2 separate regions of the Homo sapiens genome follow, and region 2 is linked to region 1. Evidence: promoter capture Hi-C in 16 types of primary human blood cells and fetal thymus (Javierre and others, 2016). All regions are on one chromosome and are shown on one strand. Each heading gives the region's core, a stretch centred on a gene start or on the middle of the fragment in contact. The rest is flanking DNA. Distances are from core to core; before and after follow the strand shown.

Region 1 (2,553 bases), core at 20-2,519:
CACAACTTTGTAATACAGGACTGGGGGGCAACAAGGTTACCTCTCATGGAGGGTCTGACCAAGGAGCAACCTGGAAGAGGATGAGATGGGTGATTTCGAACAAGGGCACAGCCAGGGCTCCAGAAATGCTGTCGGTGATCTGGGGCAGGGGGCATGGCCTCTGTGGGGGAACCTCAAAGTGGGTGATGCTTGCGTGGCAGCACATGATCCTAGGCCAGCCACAGAGAGACTGAACTAGGGAAAAATCCCCCTTTGCCACCCATACCCTCTTACTGCCAGGGGCAGCCTTCCCCTAGCTAGGAGAACCTGGGGTCGACCCAGCTCTTAGACAGAGAAGTTACCCCCAAACCCTGTGTGACATGAGTGAAGATTTGGGCGTGGTAGCCCACAAAAATATTCCCCCTCCTCCTCTGTTGGACTCTACAGTTTCACAATCAGTGTTCTATTCCTTTGGCTTAAGATTTTTGACCCAAGTTATTTTTTTAATGGTGCCACTTTAAGTTGTTATCATGTATCCACACCTTAGTATGAATGAGTCAATCTGATCCTTTTCCAGGAGTCGATTTCGTTGTTGATAGAGATGAAGGAAGGCTTTAAAATCCTAGAGTCTAGGACAGTGGGGTGGGGGAGACTGGTGAGGGGAGGATCAGGATGCTGGGGCAAAGAAGGGGCAAAGAGAGAAGAGAGGAGGGCACAGAAGGGAGAGGGTGGACGAGCCTGGGAGGGATGGGGGCAAATCACTCACTTCGTGATTTGGGGATGGGGTGATCAGAGATAGCCTGAGCAGAGACCGTAGTACAGCCTTTTACCAACTCCCTCTCCCCACTTGGGTGCCTGGACCCCCTGTTCCTGTGTCTTCATATCTCCTCGATGCAACAGCCTGGAGCGCAAACTTTCTGGGATATGACCCCAGCCTGGCTTCCTATTCTGCCGTCGCCACCCGCAGCTGGACAGGACAGGGGCTCTTGGCAGATCGGCAGGGGCGCAGTCCTGGAGACCAGGACACTCTGGGAAGGGGGCGCGCGGAGGTTTAGGATCGAAGCGGCAGGGGCCGCGGGGCTCTGCGTCCAGGGCCGGGGCAAGGGGACCCGGCCAGCGGGAGGCTCACCTGCAGGACACGGTGATCTCCACCTTGGTGGCCGGGATGCTGCCCGCCAAGGAGTCGAACTCGCTCAGCGACGCCATGTCCTCAGGCTGCTCCATCGCCCACCGCACCCCCCACCCCAAATTAGTCAATCCCTGCGCGATTCACGCCTCCTCCGGAGCGACTGGAGCCCTGGGCTCTCCCCCAACTCCAGAGCCTGGGCTGGGCGGCAAGGGGAGGAGAGAGGAGCGCGAAGAGGGGGCGTGGGAAGTGAGAGAGGGAAGAGGGCGGAGGGAGCGGGGGCCGCGGATCGAGGAGGGGGCTCGGGTGACGCCGCGAGGAGGCTAGGGGCCCAGTGGGGAAGGGCAAGGAGCCCAGGGAGCGGGGGCACAGCGGGGAAGGCAGAGAGGGGCGCGGGGAGAGGGGCTCGGGGAGAGGGCACCGGGAGGGAAACGCGGAGTCGTGGAGAGGGGCACCAGGAGAGGGACGCGCGTCTGTGGGCAGAGGTAGAGGGGATGCAGAAGACAGGGAGAGGGGCGTGAGGAGCGGGAGGCGCCGGATGGGGCGCTGGCGGCGGGGGTGGCGGGGCGCCGGCAGCGCGGAGCCCGAGCGCCCGGGCTGCGCCGCCTCTCCCTGGGTCTTGGCGCCGGCGGCGACGGGGCTGAGACGCGGCTGCGAGCGCCACCTCCTCGGCTCGGGCTTCGGCTCCGGGGCGCCCGGGCTGCGGGAAAATCAAATCTGCCCGAAGCCGCAGCCTCCCGCCGCCCGGGAACGCCAGAGGGGGCGCCCGCAGGGGCCGGGGCGGGGCCGCGGGCGGGGTCTGCGCGCAGGGTGAGTGTGAGCGTGTGTGTGTGCGCGTGTGTGTGTGTGTGCGCGCGTGGCGGGCCGGGGGACGCGGTCCAGATGCTGGGGACGTGGCGGGTGACAGCAAGAGGTGGTCCTGGTCGCGCGCATCTTCATTTGCGCCCGCCCCCTCTCACCACCCCTATCTCCCATCAGGGGTCTCCATCCTGGGGGAGGGGGAGGGTTATGGGAACCAACGGGCGCCTTTTTGAGAAAGGTCTATGCAGGGTTGAGAGGGGGCATAAGTGGGAGGGAGGTGTGCAAAAAAGATCCCCTCCCAGGGGCTTGGGTGTGGAGGGTCTCTGCTGAGTGTGCGCCCTACTCGGGGGCGGGTCTCAGTTCAGAAACAGACCCTACATCTCCTTCTGGGGAGGTGTGTGGGGGCGACCCCAGTGCCAGGAGGGACTACCTCGGTTTCCCAGTGGCCCAGGTGGGGTCGGTGCATGGGCGCCTCCCCCATCCGTGGTTCCCGCCAGCCGCGGCCTCGCCAAGTCGGCTGCCGAAACCACGCGCCAGCGCCCTTCCACTCCCCCGCCCGTCGTGACCACACGACTGAGCCAGCCTCCAGGTCTAGAAGCTCCTGCCACCCAGTCTGGTGGCAACCAGACTGGGAGATCGGCCCGAGC
Region 2 (2,553 bases), core at 32-2,531, 250 kb before region 1:
GACTTGTATCACCCAGCTCTCTTGCCCTCAGGCTTCCAGTTGGTTTTGAGCAAAAGATGTCACCATTAAAAGATGGGACAATGGAGAGAGTGGTTCTAGCCCCACACCCCCAAAACTGGGCTGCCACAGTTCCTCTATCTAAAGCTATAATAGCTCATCTCCCACAGCAACAGCAGCTGGCTGTTTTTGGTAACCCTGCTCCCTTCCTTGCCCCATTGGGCCTACGAGCTGCCTTTGGGATTGCCCTTACCCACTATGGGTTTCCTTAACTCTGCCCACACCCCTGTACATAATTCCCTATGTGGTTAACTCTTTAAGTGTGCCATCTGGTTTCTGCCAGGATCTTGACTGAACCATGTAGTTAATGAACTATTGTGATGGTTCATGCTCTTTTTTAAAAAATTTTTACTTTTTTTTTGAGACGGAGTCTCACTCTGTGGCCCAGGCTGGAGTGCAGTGGCACAACCTTGGCTCACTGCAACCTCTGCCTCCCGGGTTCAAGAGATTCTCCTGCCTCAGCCTCCAGAGTAGCTGTGATTACAGGTGTGAGCCACCATGCCTGGCTAATTTTTGGGTTTTTCTTTTTTGAGACGGAGTCTCGTTCTGTTGCCCAGGCTGGAGTGCAGTGGTGTGATCTCGGCTGACTGAACCTCTGCCTCCTGGGTTCAACCGATTCTCCTGCCTCAGCCTCCCTAGTAGCCGAGACTACAGGTGAGTGCCACCATGCCCAGCTAATTTTTTGTATTTTGAGTAGAGACGGGGTTTCACTGTGTTAGCCAGGATGGTCTCGATCTTCTGACCTTGTGATCCTCCCACCTCGGCCTCCCAAAGTACTGGGATTACAGGCGTGAGCCATCGCGCCCAGCCAATTTTTGTATTTTTTAGTGGAGATGGAGTTTCACCATGTTGGCCAGGCTGGTCTCAAACTCCTGACCTCAGGTGATCCACCTGCCTCGGCCTCCCAAAGTGCTGGGATTACAGGCATGAGCCACCACGCCCAGCCTGTGAAGGTTCATACTGTTTAAGATTTTCCTTCACGGATACTTGAAGTCAATCACAATATTTAAAACATTAAATATTTTATTATTTATTTATTTATCTATTTGTTTTGAAACGGAGTCTCACTCTGTTGCCCAGACTGGAGTGCAGTGGTATCTTGGCTCACTGCAACCTCTGCCTCCTGGGTTCAAGGGATTCTGCTGCCTCAGCCTCCCAAGTAGCTGGAATTACAGGCGCGCACCATTATGCCTGGCTAATTTTGGTATTTTTAGTAGAGACAGGGTTTCGTCATGTTGGCCAGGCTGGTCTCAAACTCCTGACCTCAGATGATCTGCCTGCCTCAGCCTCCCACAGTGCTTGGATTATAGCCAAAAAAAATTTTTTTTTCTTCTTAGAGACAAGGTCTTGCTATGTTGCCCAAGTTGGAGTGCAGTGAAATAATCATAGCCCACTGCAGCCTCGAACTCCTGTACTCAAGAGATCCTTGCCGTCTCAGCCTCCTGAGTAGCTAGAACTACAGGCATGCAGCACCACTTTGCTAATTTGTTTTTTTAAATTTTTGTAGAGACAATAGTAAAACTGCTGGTTTCAGAACACCTGGCCTTAAGCGATTCTCCCATCTTGGCCCCCCAAAACATAAAACATTAAACCAGGCTGGGTGCAGTGGCTCACGCCTGTAATCGCAGCACTTTGGGAGGCTGAGGCGGGTAGATCACGAGATCAAGAGATTGAGACTATCCTAGCCAACATGGTGAAACCCTGTCTCTACTAAAAATACAAAAATTAGCTGGGCTTGGTGGCGCATGCCTGTCGTCCCAGTTACTCAGGAGGCTGAGGCAGGAGAATCACTTGAAACTGGGAGGTGGAGGTTGGAATGAGCCAAGATCATGCCACTGAACTCCAGCCTGGTGACACAGCAAGAATCTGTCTCAAACAAACAAACAAAACAACAACAACAAAAACATTAAACCTTATACAAAACTCTTAGCACCTGGCCATCAGTAATTTCTTTCTTTTTTGAAAATTTTTTTTTTCTGAGCAGAGTCTCACTATGTGCCCCAGGCTGGAGTGAAGTGGTGCAATCTCAGCTCACTGCAACCTCTGCCTCACAGGCTCAAGTGATCCTCCCAACTCAGCCCCCTAAGTAGCTGGGACTATAGGCGCACAACACCATGCCCAGCTAATTTTTGTATTTTTTTGTACGGGGCGGGGGGGTCTTGCTATGTTGTCCAGGCCAGTCTCAAACTCCTGGCCTGAAGTGGTCCTCTCGCCTCAGCCTTTCAAAGTGCTGGGATTACAGGCATGAACCATTGTGCCCAGCATTTTTTGTTTTTAATTTTAAATTAAACATTTTTTAAATTTTAAGTTAAAAAATATATATACGTGGCCAGGTGCAGTGGGTCACACCTGTAATCCCAGTACTTTGGGAGTCCGAGGCGGGCGGATCACTTGAGGTCAGGAATTCCAGACCAGCCTGGCCATCATGGCGAAACCCTGTCTCTACTAAAAATAAAAAAATTTGTTGGGCGTTGTGGCAAACGCCTGTAATCCCAG

The links. The method cuts DNA at HindIII sites, captures the fragments that hold promoters and counts their contacts. A CHiCAGO score of 5 or more calls a contact.
Region 2: a contact is called between a fragment that was not itself captured here and the fragment with the promoter of CPNE5 in region 1, in 11 of 17 cell types (monocytes, M0 macrophages, naive B cells and 8 more). The highest score is 15.4, in monocytes.

Annotation. Positions count from the first base shown.
Region 1 is chr6:36,838,175-36,840,727 of GRCh38, forward strand. It overlaps CPNE5 (copine 5), which reads right to left and starts at 1,270. Exons shown (of 21, transcript NM_020939.2): 1 at 1,109-1,270. The coding sequence starts at 1,203. RefSeq lists a silencer at 1,734-1,943. The HindIII fragment of the contact is 11,867 bases long and covers 1-2,553 here.
Region 2 is chr6:36,586,651-36,589,203 of GRCh38, forward strand. No RefSeq gene overlaps it. Among named protein-coding and RNA genes, the nearest start is that of SRSF3, 6.4 kb to the right of the region's middle. The HindIII fragment of the contact is 5,571 bases long and covers 1-2,553 here.